2 separate regions of the Homo sapiens genome follow, and region 2 is linked to region 1. Evidence: promoter capture Hi-C in 16 types of primary human blood cells and fetal thymus (Javierre and others, 2016). All regions are on one chromosome and are shown on one strand. The core of a region is centred on a gene start or on the middle of the fragment in contact, and the rest is flanking DNA. Distances in the headings are between cores, read along the strand shown.

Region 1 (7,654 bases), core at 1,999-4,498:
GTGTCTTTTAAGAATGGGGCTATAAATGTCTGACACAGCTACACGTTCACCTCTCTGGGACACTACTCACACTGGTGCCTAACTTTAAGGGAAGTGACATACCACCATCATCCAAAAACAAAAATTGGGTTTCTCACACACTGTAGCAGAATATACTCTTTTTCTTCTCTTGAGGCATAGCATTGTCAGCTATTAAAAATGGATTTAATGTTTTAATTTTCCTGGATTCCTTCACCAACCCCTTAATTTCACCCCAATCTTCCAGATAGAATTTACATGTGACTACTGGCCATGTTGTAGGGACCAATTGGATCCTTTGTAAAGTTTTAAAAATTGCTTCCTAGTAAATTCTTATTCCCAAGAAGTAGTCGTTATTAGTAGGTGAAGTCATTAGTGCTCACTTAGATACAGCATTGTAAAAATCTTTACCCATTCAATGTTCAGCAGCCTGAAATTTCACCTTTAGGAAAAAAAGAGGGATCTTTGCCAGACAATTCCTATATAATGGAGCAAAATCTGATTCTGTAGTGTTTTGCTTGTTTTCGATTTAAGGGAGATGAAGATACATTTCTTTATGTCCTTTGTTTACTGTTCTGAAGTTTTACAGATGGTTACTGTATTGGATATAATAATTTTGCCTAGATTTTTAACTGAGGGGGTTTGAGAACCAAGGGACAAAATGTAATGTGTTTTCAAACTTCAGCTTCCCTTCTGCTGTAACTTTCACAAAGTATCTCCTGAAAACTCCTGTCTTTGTACAAAATTCATCAAAGAGACAGTGGAGACTGGGGAATTTTTGAGGTTGTATTCGGATTGGTGTCTTCAAGGGTCCCTTTCAGTTCGCAGTCCAAGGTGCCAGGGACTACCCCGTCCTCCCTCCCTCTTCTGGCTTTGCTCTCCTGAGTCCTTTTGCCTTCTCTTCCCCCTTCTTGGATTATCTTTTCATTCTCGATGAGGTTCCCACACACTGCGGTGTGTGTCTCTGAAAACCCACTGGAGACCTAGCACAACTCTCCGTACATCCCGTGGTGAGAACAGAATGAAAGATATATTGTTTAAAAAGCAATAATTAAAATCTAGTCTTCAGTTCCTTCTTCCTCGTCATATTTTTTCTCCGTAAGCCTAGAGATTTTATTTTCACTAGTGTGTTCCCTTGTCTCCAAAGAGCGTGTGTGTGATATTATATTCGGGAAAGCTACAACTCTCTTTTCCTTGTCCTTCTGTTCTCTCTTAATAGTTGAGCAATGTCTGTTATATTTTCCCCTTTTCCTTTTTTTCTCAGTCCCAGATTCCCGCCTCTCCCCACTGTCAGAGCATCTATCAATGTGGTGTCCATCACAGCGGCAGCGGCTTTCTCTTTCATCTTCCTCCCTCTGCCAGAGCCAGGGAGGGAGAGTGGGAGGCGTCAAGGAGGTAGGGGAGAGACTGGCAGAGGAAAAGGAGTGGGTGGGTGGGGGCCAAGTAAATAGATACTTAGATGATGAAGTCAAGCCACTGCGGCAATGTTTCTTGTCAGTTTCACGCGGGCAAAGCGTGCCTTTCGGTGGGTTATAAGCAGCGCCCGGTCCTTCCTTCTCTCGCCAAGTTGCCTGATCCTTCCCTCCAGGCGCGCGCGCACACACCACACTCACACACCCCAAAACCAAGACTCGTCCTACAGGATCTGGGAAAAGAAAAAGAAAAAAAAGCCCTCAATCACCACCTCCTTCTCGCCGACTCCCCCTCACCCCCCGCCTCCCCTCCAGCGGGCAGCCAAGGAGAGCTAGAGGCGGGGGAGGGGAGAGGGAGGAGAAGCGACGCAAGTGGGTAGCTTTTCAGCGCCGGCGAGGCGCGGGAGGAGGAGAAGCAGTGGGGAGGCGCAGCCGCTCACCTGCGGGGCAGGGCGCGGAGGAGGGACCCGGGCTGCGCGCTCTCGGGCCGAGGAACCAGGACGCGCCCGGAGCCTCGCACGCGGCCAAGCTCGGGGCGTCCCCTCCCCTCGGCCGGGCGAACTCAAGGGGCGCAGCTCTTTGCTTTGACAGAGCTGGCCGGCGGAGGCGTGCAGAGCGGCGAGCCGGCGAGCCAGGCTGAGAAACTCGAGCCGGGAACAAAGAGGGGTCGGACTGAGTGTGTGTGTCGGCTCGAGCTCCGGGCAGAGGCATTTGGGCCCGAGGCCCCCGCTGTGACTCCCCGAGACTCCGCAGTGCCCTCCACTGCGGAGTCCCCGCGCTTGCCGGCAAAAACTTTATTCTTGGCAAACTTCTCTTTCTCTTCCCCTCCTCCTCGGCCCCCATCTTCTGCTCCTCCTCCTTCTCTAGCAGATTAAATGAGCCTCGAGAAGAAAAACCGAAGCGAAAGGGAAGAAAATAAGAAGATCTAAAACGGACATCTCCAGCGTGGGTGGCTCCTTTTTCTTTTTCTTTTTTTCCCACCCTTCAGGAAGTGGACGTTTCGTTATCTTCTGATCCTTGCACCTTCTTTTGGGGCAAACGGGGCCCTTCTGCCCAGATCCCCTCTCTTTTCTCGGAAAACAAACTACTAAGTCGGCATCCGGGGTAACTACAGTGGAGAGGGTTTCCGCGGAGACGCGCCGCCGGACCCTCCTCTGCACTTTGGGGAGGCGTGCTCCCTCCAGAACCGGCGTTCTCCGCGCGCAAATCCCGGCGACGCGGGGTCGCGGGGTGGCCGCCGGGGCAGCCTCGTCTAGCGCGCGCCGCGCAGACGCCCCCGGAGTCGCCAGCTACCGCAGCCCTCGCCGCCCAGTGCCCTTCGGCCTCGGGGGCGGGCGCCTGCGTCGGTCTCCGCGAAGCGGGAAAGCGCGGCGGCCGCCGGGATTCGGGCGCCGCGGCAGCTGCTCCGGCTGCCGGCCGGCGGCCCCGCGCTCGCCCGCCCCGCTTCCGCCCGCTGTCCTGCTGCACGAACCCTTCCAACTCTCCTTTCCTCCCCCACCCTTGAGTTACCCCTCTGTCTTTCCTGCTGTTGCGCGGGTGCTCCCACAGCGGAGCGGAGATTACAGAGCCGCCGGGATGCCCCAACTCTCCGGAGGAGGTGGCGGCGGCGGGGGGGACCCGGAACTCTGCGCCACGGACGAGATGATCCCCTTCAAGGACGAGGGCGATCCTCAGAAGGAAAAGATCTTCGCCGAGATCAGTCATCCCGAAGAGGAAGGCGATTTAGCTGACATCAAGTCTTCCTTGGTGAACGAGTCTGAAATCATCCCGGCCAGCAACGGACACGAGGTGAGCGGGCCGCTGCCCCAGTTCCGAGAGGCGTGGCGGGTCCCTGGGAAACTCAGAGAGGGAGGAAGGGAACGAAGGCGCCCGGCCGCCCGGCTGAGGGTCCCGAGTAGATCCCTCGTTTGTTTTGGGGTGTGTGCGTAGCTGGGCCCCCGGTCCGCAGTGTGTGTGTGTGTGTGTGTGTGTGTGTGTGTGTGTGTGTGTGTAGGATGGGAGGTAGAGGGGCAGGGTAACTTATTCCAAATGGATCAGTTTAGGGGGTTCGGTGGCTGAACGGTTGGTTCGCGGGCAGGAACCCACAATGTTTCGCCTTCGGTCTTTTTGTTGGGCTGAGGGGTGCCGTGCTTTAAAGCGAGTAGGGCTGAATAACGCTACTGATAAATTCTTCCGTGGGACGGAAAACAAAGTGCACACGCTATCTCTTGGTAGATGTCTCTGCAAAAGTGCGTTAAACCACCAAAGGCTTAGGTGGAGACGAGCAGAGCCACAGGCGGGAGGAAGGGGAGGCGGGCGTGGGCTGGGGCAGGCGGGGCCGTCCCTACCACCGGTGAGCCGGGCCGCGGGGAGCAGGCCGGCCGATGGGGCGCGCACCCGGGCTGCGGGGGCGGTGCGGGGTTCAGTCCCTGCGGCCCCAGCGCCTGGGCTAGCAGCTGGGAGCTGTGGGTGCGCCGAGCCGACCCACCGCAAGGGTACACCCTGGCTGTACCGCCCCCAACTCTAGTTTTCTCCAACCGCCATCACTTGGAAACAAACCCACAACTTTTATTTGGGGTTTGGGACCGGATCAGGCCTTAAATCTACGCAGAAGAAAGGCGGAGAAGCAGCGGAAGCCGGGCACTAGTCCTGCAGGGTGGAAGGCGCTTTATCGGGTCTTCTGGCCCGCTGCGGGCGATAGAGCTGGTAACCTGAGTAGAGTAAATAGAGACACGTGGGTGCTGGCTAGAGAAAGCGCGGAGCAGGGCCGCGCTGGAGGGCTGTTTGAAGCCTAGTCCAGAGCTGGTCTAGGGGGCGGATGGACCCTGATACCCGACACTCCACTGGTCACCCTTGTTCCACAACTGGGAAACCCTCTGGAGGAAATCCGGTAGAAAAGTCCTGACACCCGAATGATTTAACCAACGCCTTTTCCCTCCAAAGAAACTTGGAGGATATACCTTTTTTTCCTTAAATGGCATCTTTCTACCCCCAAAAAGAAAGTGTGTGGTTTTGAGGGCGGGGACATTTTGGGTTTTAAACAGCGCGTTTAAGAACACCTCAGATCTGCCTTCTCTATCCCAATGGCAGAGGTGAGTACGAATTTTGAAAGGCTGGGGGCCTGCGTTCAGAGAACAGAATGGTGTTCTTTACCCGTTGAATCCAGTTTGAGCGGGCTGGGGGCGGGGGTAGGGTGCACCTAACCCCGCGTAAAAGATTTGTGACTACTGTGTGCTGGGAAAAGGAGGTCAAAGGGAGGACACACGTCCAGAGAACCGAATAACATCCAAAACACAGGCTTTTTGCCAAACTCTCCTATTTGTAGAGCAGCCTCTCTTTCTACCCATTTTGCTAGTCCTGCCTTAGTCCATAAATAATTTTGCCACCCACTTCATATTCTCCACAATTTTCTGGTCCGGGTGAAGGACACTGCGTTCGAATCCGAGAGCACTCGGGTGTTAAGTGGGCATGAGGAGGCCTGAGGGTGAAGGAGTAATACCACTGATTTGCACGTGTTTGAGGCTGTCTGGGTGGATGGTGATTACCAAAACTGATATCAACTGGGCTACCTTTTAGATGTCTATAACCTGACTCTCTAATTTTCCTCCCTTTAACCACAGAATCGTTCTACTTTTGTAAGCCTGCACTCAGCCAGCCATAGTAGGTTATAAGCTCGAGTGGAGCTTCTGCTGTAACTGCGCTCAGGGCAGTTGCCTTAAGACCGCATCTGAGTGGTTGGCTTGTTTATGTTTAAATGCCATTTTCAGTTGCAAAATGATATTTCAGCCTTCTTTTAATCAGATCTGATTGAAGTGAACAGTGGTTGAAGAGGCTATCGAAACCATCAACCCCATTAACTCCTACTCCTGTAATATTAGGCATCCAAGGAGCCTTGATATGGTTTAATAAACAGCAGTCAGAACAGCATGTGGATCATTCCCAAATTTAACTATATTTTTATTGGTTTTGTTATTATTTATACGTTTTTGGTCCCGGGTGGATAATAATCACTCAAAAATACATGTTGACAAGAAAAGGATTATGCAGTACTAAACACTAGCGTATGTCTCTCAGAGTATAAAACAGAGTTGCCCCTAAACCTCTTCCTTTGAATTACCAGCGCACACACATTTGTACCATTATTGTCACAAACTCTAAGGTGATTTTCTTTCTTTTGGGTGTGGGGATTCATGATGTTAGGTGGCCAGACAAGCACAAACCTCTCAGGAGCCCTACCACGACAAGGCCAGAGAACACCCCGATGACGGTAAGACACCCATTCTACTTCTTCTGACTTTAGCAGATAAGGGGTGCAATTTGTATAAATAGGTGTGTTTTGTTACTTTTGAGTTCAAGAAACTGGGACTAGGTCAGACTATGCCCACTATTTTAATGGTAAAGAAAACGCAGGAAACTTATGGCTTACCTCTAATATATATTACATAATTTAAAAACTGTTTTTGAATGAGTTAGGGACCCTTGGATTTCAGGTGGGTTCCAGATTCTTTGGGAAGAGGGAATGTCTACAATGAGTTTTTCTCTTCCTCATCTTACCTTAAATCCTAATTAGCTTAGATCTTTAGTATTTTTAATATATTATTAAGAAGAACGACAGTATATATCGATTTATTTTCCAACCAGAATAGTTTTGAGTGGATTTTCACTTGCAAAATTGCTGTTTCTTGTTCCTTATTACAGTGAAAAGGCCGGCAGTAAATGAGCAGAGCAGAATCTAACTTGTAAAAATATAAAACTTATAATTAGGAATGTGCATATCAGAAATGATACCCTTTCTCCCTATTTCTGATTCTTGCTAAAAACTTTAAAATTACATACATATGTATTTAGACTTAAGGAGAATTCTTTGTGACTTTAAAAGAATCAAGTAACCTTAGGGATTTCTTGTCAGCCTATCTGTTTTCCATTAATTACTTAACAATTGGCCTAACTGAAATGAAGTGTTTTTACATACAATATGTCAACCAGGAGCAGGGAAGAGAATTATATATTAGGCTTCTTCCTCAGCTACAAGATAGTTACACAGATTAACAAGAAGAAATACACATATCGAACAGAAATTTTTTGGCAAAATGATCTAAGTGTAGCACATAAAATTAAGCCTCCCAGAGTTAATCCTTTATAAATTTAGATAGTTGCCTATATACTAGATAACAACTCTTTCAGTAGAATCTAGAAATTTTTCTAGAAATCTGCAAGCACAGGTAGAATCTTTGAGTTTGTCTACAAGGCAAAACATAATTTCAAGTGTATAAATCTCTGTGTTTGTGTGTAGCTAGATGGCCTAATATATTTATATTACATTTTTAAAGTTGTGTGTGTTCTGTATATTTTAGTCCAGTTTGTTAGTATTAGAACAAATTAAGTTAGATGGATAACACTTATTTTTGTAAAAACATCAGTCAGTAGTGGAAGAACTGTTTGAACTACATGTTTTTAAAACATCTGGTTTGCTGCTAAGCTATTTAAGAGAATAAATACTGTCAATCTAAAATAGAGCATAATAATCCAGTTACAGTATTTTGTAAACAAATCTTTTATGTAGGGTCTGATTTATCTTAGAACTATTAGATTTTCAGATGAAAAATACAGTAATATAAAAGGGAAGTCAGTGCATCATTGATTGTTCTTTGGATCTTCCCAGGAAAGCATCCAGATGGAGGCCTCTACAACAAGGGACCCTCCTACTCGAGTTATTCCGGGTACATAATGATGCCAAATATGAATAACGACCCATACATGTCAAATGGATCTCTTTCTCCACCCATCCCGAGAACAGTAAGTAACATGCTGATGTTGCAAATTATGTTCAGAAGTGCAAATTGATTTGTATTTTGGCAGAATGTTTATTTTTCCAAACTCATTGGTAATGCTTTCATTATATATAACTAGTCGTTGCTAAATAAGAGCTGTTATGAGGAATGGCCACCTTAAAACAGTGCTACCTTTGATGTCTTGCCTTTGAAATTTTAGCTTTTGGCTTATTGATTAAAATAAATATGTAACAGATCATAAGTTATAAAATCAAGTGAAGTTACATCAACAAATCCCTGATTTTATGAGTATTGTGCATTCTATGCTGATGAGAGGAAAAAATTGATTTACTTTTTCAGCTAAGTAAGGACTGTATAGCTTTTAATGCCCACAAGCTTTCTAGAATCAGAGCTACTTTAGCTCATTTGGAGCTGAATGTTTGTTATGTTACTTTGGCTTTTCAAATGGTGTCT
Region 2 (7,654 bases), core at 2,529-5,028, 1.4 Mb before region 1:
GAGGAAAATCTTGAAGACTGGCAAGGGTCACCCCACAAATATGAGTTCTTCCTGAGGATCTTATGATATTTACTAGATTGAGTAGATTATTAGGTCTGGCTTTTTCCTTTACTTTTATTTTTTTAAGAAGTGCTGTGGGCTGGGCGCGGTGGCTCACGCCTGTAATCCCAGCACTTTGGGAGGCTGAGGCAGGAGGATCACGAGGTCAGGAGTTTTAGCTCGAGGTTTTCTACCTTAGTTTCACAGGTACCTCATTCAACAAATATCTTTCTGCCAAGACACAAATGATTTCCTAGCTTAGAATTTGCTGTAAAACAGCACTAATACCATTTAATCACAATAACAAGCAAAATCTAAAAAAAACACACTAATACTTAAGTGCTGCAAAAGTGGTAATGTTTAATATTTAATTGACAAGCTGGTCTAGCATTACTTTGAGATCAAAGCATCAATGTCTTTTCCATAGCGTAAATACAATCACCAACACTTAACCAATTGCTCTCCTCAGGAGAGGGCTCTGAAGTTAGTTTTATAGAATAGAATACAATGTACCAACTGCAAATACAAGAGATAGAATAGTAGGAACATGTCAAACAAGAACGATATGTTCATTAAATTAAAAAGATGAAAACAATTTCTAAGTTGACATCTTGTGGTGGAATTTAAACATCCATATGCTTTGTTTCTAGAAGTTAAAAAAAGCATACTCGATACTTAAGCTGCTCTGCAGAGTGCTTGATGTAAAAATTTTTTAAACATAGCTTATGTATGGACTCAAATGCTGTACTGGGGACATGAAATCGTATCAGGGAGTTTCTCAGTCTAAGTAGCACAAAATCCAAATTAAGAAAGGCACATTTAGGCAAGGGCTTTCTGTTCAGATGTAACTCACCAAGCACCACAATTACTCAAAGCTGAGTCTTTGTGCACAGAAACATCAGCAGGAGCCATGGATTGCCCTGACAACCACTCAGCTAGAGTGCTGACAAGCAGAGATGCTGCCACCAGAGCGTGATTATGGCCACCAGGCCATGCCTTGCCCAAAGATGAATACAATATGCTCTTGCTCTACTACGCTTCAGACTAAATGTGTTCTTTAAAAAACAATTCTGTATATCCATGTCAACAAACTGTTTTTTTTTCCCCTCACCCAGAAAACACTAGCAGACAATTGCTCACATACAATATGAAGTATGAGAATTGTGTATTTTTCAAAGTTATTAAATGCTCCTATAAGGCACACTCATAGAAGTGTGAAAGACTTCAGAAAGACCAATTATAGTTGGGAACGCTTATTTGAAATACTGCTTACGACAAGTCCTTGCAAGCTAAGATTTTATGAGCTGTCAGGTCACAAACTACTTGTTTTTCTAGCTGCTTCATAGGCTCTAGGGGTCTGAATGTTTCTGGGAAAAAAAATAAATAGAAATAATACTTGCCTTTACCCACAGGATATTTCATAACAAGTGGGAAAGCCACAAAAGAGTGATATCTTAGAATGAAAAATGTCCCGATAGCCAGGTAATTTGATTAGCAGAAAATGGTTTAGTAGTCCTAGCTAAAACTCCTCAAGAGCCAGAATATTTTTATCGGTTTACTCATGGTAAAATGTAAAAGCTGTATATAAAGAACAGCATTTCCACTTCTCAAGTTCTGAAAATTGTCTTTATAGCTGGACAGTTGGCTTAAAACAAAAATTTGCAAATTAGAAACATTCAAACATAACGCTTCTTACGATGATTCCTAACTACTGTTTCCCTGTTATTAGGCCTAATAAGCCCGATGGTACCATTTTCTTTTAAAAGGGTATCCACATTCCTGCTGAGGTATGCAATGGCACCACCCTAGACAGCATCAGATGGGAAATATGGAGAAAAGGATTTGCAGGTGATAATTTGAGAAAGGGCAGCCAGTCCCGGGATCCACAAAAATGCTACTCAACGTGTTAAATGGACTTAATAGAAAACACTTGGGGCTGGTCGCGGTGGCTCACCCCTGTAATCCCAGCACTTTGCGGGGCTGAGACGGGCGGATCACAACGTCAGGAGTTCGAGACCAGCCAGTCTGGCCAACATGGTGAAACCCCGTCTCTACTAAAAATACAAAAATTAGCCGGGTGCGGTGGCGCGCGCCGGTCATCCTATTTTCTGGGGAGGCTGAGGTAGGAGAATCGCTTGAACCCAGGAGGCGGAAGTTGCAGTGAGCCGAGATCGCACAACTGCACTCCAGCCTGGGTAACAGAGCAAGACTCCGTCTCCAAAAACAACAACAAAAAACAATAATCTGTGTTTAAAATGGCATGTGAAAGGGGTTCCTCGTATTGGGTTGTTTTAATGTTTGGTATCTCTTTGACTACACAATGCAACACTTACAGTAAAAGTACAACCTTTAAAAGTATAAAAAGCCCATCTCCCCAATGACTTTATAAGTCTACCATTTTACATTTTAAGGAGTTTGCCCCTGTTCTTACATTTAGTAACAACATGGCCTTCCTCATTCTCTTTCAAACATTCCTGGAATTGATTTTCTGAATGCACTTAATCCTTTGGTCACAAGCTCAATGAAAAGGAAAAAAAAATGCACTTAAATATTCCCTGCATCAATTGAAACTGAAGCCCTCAGACAGCTGGAGGAAAAGGGGGGGAAGGAAAAAAAAGAACAAAATAAACAGGAAGTGAAAGTGACAAGAGAATCACACTGCTTACTTTTTGGCTTTTAAGCCTTTAACAATCTGAAAGTAATCTTAACAGTGTGGGGGAGGAACAAACGAAAACTCAGAAACAGCTCCCTCCCCAACCACACACACCCTGAAGGCTTTGGCTGTCTTTCCTCATCTGGGTCAGAGTTTGCACTCCCGGGCTCCTGTCAGGCTCCATCGCAATCCTCCTTAAACTCAGCGCTTTCCCCTTCTTCTAGTCTTTTTTGGTGCACATCCACTCTCTACTCCTCCAAGCCACGGTTCTCCACAGACCACAATACAACGGTGTCAGGCCAACTGTTACTCACCAGCACACTCATGATTCACCCGTCTCTCGGGTGTCTGAACAAAACGCGAGTTTTTCTTCCTTCTGGGAAAGGGAGGTGCTCGCAGATTTCAGGATGGAAATTTCACTCTCCTGCGACCGTCCACACCCGGGACGGTCACTGCCCCGTTCATCGTTTCCGGGCTCCTTAGGGGCTCGGGCACTGATCACCAAGAGGGAACCGGCCCCGCGGCGCAGCGGCTTTGGAAACTTGCTCCTGACCGAGAGCTGCAGCCCAGAAACTGCCTCCCAGGTTATTCTGCTGCTCCCAGGCCGAAGTCTGGTGGTCCCCGCACCCTATCTCGGCCCGGGTGAGGCACCCCCAGCCGCAGCGCTCTGGCTTCACCTTCCCCGGGCCCGGAGTCTTGACCTCAGCCCAGGCCTCCGTGACCCACGTCGGCCGCCCGGCCACCACCTGTCGGGACCGCCCGGCGCGCGGAGCCCGGCAGCCAGCAAAACGCAGTTGACTGCTCGGCCGCTCGGCTTTTGCTCCCGCCAAAGTTGTCCAACGCAAACTTTGCACCAGCCTACCCCGAACCCCCACAGCCCGGCACCCGCTCTTACCTGGGGCGGAGGCGGCAGCGGCCACGGGCGCGCTGGGCGCCAGGTGCCAGGGGTCGGCAGCAGCCGCGTGCGCCACGGCCAGAGGCCCCTCTGGAGCATCCTCCCGCCCCAGGCGCGCGGCTCCCGCAGGCGTCAGCGGCGCATCCTCCCTCAGCCGGGCTCCTCGTCAGCGCCTGGTGGCTCCGAGCTGTGGGCGCTCCCGCCCCGCCTGCTCGCTCAGCGCGCCGCGGCTCCAGCTTGGGCGGGCTCACGGGAGGGTGTGTCCCTGTTTCCACTTGTCGGCTCTCTACGCATCCGGGCGCAGGGCTGTTTTCTTTCCTCCGACCAAAAAAAAAAAAAAAAAAGAGAGCGAGAGAGCGGGAGCCCGAGAGCGGGAGCCCGAGGTCGAGGGCCCCCTCCTTCTCCAGCAGAAGACCCTCTGGAATGAACAGCAGCAGGCGACGCACACCTTGCGAGCTCTAGATTTCAAAACTCGCTGTTAATTCCCGGTGCTGCGTGCTCTGAGCGCCGTCTTCGCCATCCAACCCAGACGGGGATGAGACGAAAACAGCGTCCGGCATCTGGAGGGGGCAGGGCCGCTCAGGAAGTTTGTTTTCCCCACCGAGCTTGGAGAAGACGGATTGAAGCGGGTCGGCCGAGGCCTCTCCCACCTCCACAACCTCCAAGGCCTCTGCCCCGGGCTGCGGTGCCGGGCCCCTGCTCGCTGGCGAGTGCGGTGTGAGGCGGGCAGCCCGGGCCTACCCCTGCGGAGGTTTGTAGTTCACGGTATAGGGGCCCAAACCCGAGTTTTTTGGGAAAGTATCTCCCACAGAATTGGCTTCTCTTTTGAAGCACGTTTTTAATTGAAGAAGCTTCGGAACCGGTATTGAGTTCTTCTAACTACTGGGAAATCGGATGCTTTGTTTTGAGACTACTTATTTTTGAAAGCAAACCAAAGGCATTAAAGAGCAACCTAAACCAATTACAGTAGGGTTGTTAGATAAAATATAGGATGCCCAGTTAAACTTGAATTTTAGATACAAATAGTGAAGTATGTCCCAAATATTGCATGGGTCACATTTATTATTTTAAAAATGAAATATCTGGGATATACTAAATTATTTGGTGTTTATCTGAATTCAAATTTAACTGGGCACTCCGCATTTTTATCTCCTGAATCTGCAAGAGGGTTCAGTTAATGAATCAAAATTGGCAAACCTGCAATAAGTGGCAAATCACTCCTGGCGGTAATCTCCTTTCCTTATTGAAAAGGGAAAGAATCACAAGTTTCTACTATAGTAAAAACTTTATCACTATTAAAGGCTGATTCACCTGTGTTAACTAGCATGTCTTTCAAAATACAGTTGCCCCAGATGGAGAGTGACACATGAAACTTTAAGTTCATATGGGAAGGTAAATTACCTTACCTGAATCTTTTCCTCCTATTAGCTAGTGCTCCAAGTGAAAGAAGCGTGTATTTTTGTTTTTTTGTTGTGAAGGGTTCTTGTTTAATACAACTGAAAAGAATGCCTATACAAAGAATTGACATGAAAAAGCATTGATTCAACACTCATGAGCTAGGTTCTGAAAGGTGTAAAAAAATTACCTGAACATTTTTAGAAATTGGAAACTACAACTAAAACTGATAAAAATCCCTATTAACATTTGTGAAGAATCTTGATAATGTGTCCTGAATTGGTGGGTTCTTGGTCTCACTGACTTCAAGAATGAAGCCGCGGACCCTGGTGGTGAGTGTTACAGTTCTTAAAGGTAGCGTGTCCGGAGTTTGTTCTTTCTGATGTTCGGACATGTTTGGAGTTTCTTCCTCCTGGTGGGTTCAGTGGTTTCGCTGGCTTCAGGAGTGAAGCTGCAGACCTTGGCAGTGAGTGTTACAGCTCTTAAGGTGGCGCGTCCGGAGTTGTTCATTCCTCCCAGTGGGTTCGGGTCTCACTGGCCTCAGAAATGAAGCTGCAAACCTTCACGGTGAGTGTTACAGATCATAAAGGCAGTGCAGACCCAAAGAGTGAGCAGCAGCAAGATTTATTGCAAACAACAAAAGAACAAAGCTTCTAGAGCGTGGCACGGGACCCAGACAGGTTGCCACTGCTGGCTCTGGCAGCCTGCTTTTATTCCCCCATCTGGCCCCACCCACATCCTGCTGATTGGTCCATTTTACAGAGCGCTGATTGGTCCGTTTTGACAGGGTGCTGATTGATGTGTCTACAATCCCTGAGCTAGATACAGAGTGCTGATTGGTGTATTTACAATCCTTTAACTGGATATAAAGGTTCCCCAAGTCCCCACTAGATTAGCTAGACACGGAGCACTGATTGGTGCATTTACAAACCTTGAGCTAGACACAGGGTGCTGATTGGTGTGTTTACAATCCTTTAGCTAGACATAAAGGTTCTCCAAGTCCCCAGGAGATTAGCTAGATACAGAGTGCTGATTGGTGCATCCACGAACCCTGAGCTAGACACAGAGCACTGATTGGTGCATTTACAAACCTTTAGCTAGACAGAGTGCTGATTGGTGCATTTACAATCCTCTAACTAGACATAAAAGTTCTCCAAGTCCCCACCCCTCTCAGGAGCCCAGTTGGCTTCCCCTAGTGGATGCCATGCCAGGGTTGCGGGCTGAGCTGCTTGCCAGTCCTGCGCTCGTGCCTCGTGCCTGCACTCAGCAGCCCTTGGGCAGTCAATGGGACTGGACGCCGCTGAGGCAGGGGCGGTGCCCCTCAGGGAGGCTAGGGCCTAGCAGAAGCCCACCGCGGGGGGACTTGCACATGGCGGGCTGCAGATCCGAGCCCTGCCCCATGGGGAGGTGGCTGAGGCCTGGTGAGAATTTGAGCGTGGCGCGGGCCGGCTGGCAGTGCTGGGGGACCTGACGCCCCCCTCTGCAGCTGCTGGCCCAGGTGCTAAGCCCTTCACTGCCCGGGCCGGGGGTGCCGGCCGCCCTCCGAGTGCGGGGCCACGGAGCCCACGCCCACCCGGAACTCGCGCTGTCCCGCAAGGCCACATGCAGCCCCGGTTCCCACCCGCGTCTCTCCCTCAACCTCCCTGCAAGCAGAGGGAGCTGGTACCAGCTTCCGCAAGCCTGGAGAGGGGCTCCCACAGTGCAGCAGCGGGCTGAAGGGCTCCTCAAGCATGGCCAGAGCGGACTCTGAGGCCAAGGAGGCGCTGAGAGCCAGCGAGGGCCGCCAGCACATTGTCACCTTTCAATAAGATTCTTTACACAATTTTTATTAAACCAGAGAGCCAGCCAGGCGTGGTGGCTCATGCCTGTAATCCCAGCACTTTGGGAGGCCAAGACGGGCGGATCACAAGATCAGGAGTTCAAGACCAGCCTGGCCAACATTGGTGAAACCCTGTCTCTACTAAGAATACAAAAATTAGCCGGGCGTGGTGGAACGTGCCTGTAGTCCTGGCTACTCGGGAGGCTAAGGGAGGAGAATTGCTTGACCCCGGGGAGGCAGAGGTTGCAGTGAGCCGAGGTTGTGCCACTACACTCCAGCCTGGGCGACAGAGCAAGACTCCATCTCAAAAAAAAAAACAAACCAGAGAGCCTCATTTGGGGGCTCTTGGGTTCCTCGTCTGCTACACAGAAGTGAGGAGATTCCCCTGACTGATCTCATGTTGTTAAGTGTTCTATCCATCCCCACCACACCCCAACTTCTTCATGAAGCAGGTCTCCATCCTTATAACTTGAGAGGCTGTGAATCATTCCATAGATGTCGGTCTTCTGCTACCGCTCTTCACATTGCCTCTACATACCAGGTCTTCAGCTGCATTCTAGAAACATCATATACTATTGATTGCAAATCTATAATAATATAAGACAATGACTGACAGGGAAAAAAGTTTTTTTAAGTTACAAACTCAATCCACTTGTTGCATTTCAAAGGTGCAATACTTTTCTTTATTCATCAGTTAAAGAAGTTAGAAATTAACTTCCCCAAAAATCAGCAACCGGCAAACAAATTTCCTTGAAAGTCACAGTCACATATTTAGTGCATCCCAGAAAAGAACAGGGGCAAGAGAATTTTCACCCACTTTCATGAGTTTCATCAAATACTGAGCCTACTCAAG

Evidence for each region. The method cuts DNA at HindIII sites, captures the fragments that hold promoters and counts their contacts. A CHiCAGO score of 5 or more calls a contact.
Region 2: a contact is called between the fragment with the promoter of MCUB here and the fragment with the promoter of LEF1-AS1 in region 1, in 2 of 17 cell types (non-activated CD4 T cells and naive CD4 T cells). The highest score is 5.9, in non-activated CD4 T cells.

What each region holds. Positions count from the first base shown.
Region 1 is chr4:108,163,119-108,170,772 of GRCh38, reverse strand. It overlaps LEF1-AS1 (LEF1 antisense RNA 1), which reads right to left and starts at 3,248. Exons shown (of 3, transcript NR_029374.1): 1 at 2,940-3,248. LEF1 (lymphoid enhancer binding factor 1) reads left to right here and starts at 1,841. Exons shown (of 12, transcript NM_016269.5): 1 at 1,841-3,218; 2 at 5,610-5,676; 3 at 7,072-7,205. The coding sequence starts at 3,006. LOC124900752 reads right to left here and starts at 2,834. Exons shown (of 2, transcript XM_047416528.1): 1 at 1,871-2,834; 2 at 1-1,663. The coding sequence starts at 2,273. The coding sequence ends at 1,077. RefSeq lists enhancers at 1-81, 2,152-2,241, 3,269-3,770 and silencers at 1,842-1,891, 3,648-3,887. The HindIII fragment of the contact is 8,163 bases long and covers 1-7,578 here.
Region 2 is chr4:109,556,370-109,564,023 of GRCh38, reverse strand. It overlaps MCUB (mitochondrial calcium uniporter dominant negative subunit beta), which reads right to left and starts at 3,778. Exons shown (of 8, transcript NM_017918.5): 1 at 3,588-3,778. The coding sequence starts at 3,686. RefSeq lists an enhancer at 2,892-3,091 and a silencer at 3,512-3,831. The HindIII fragment of the contact is 4,460 bases long and covers 1-4,440 here.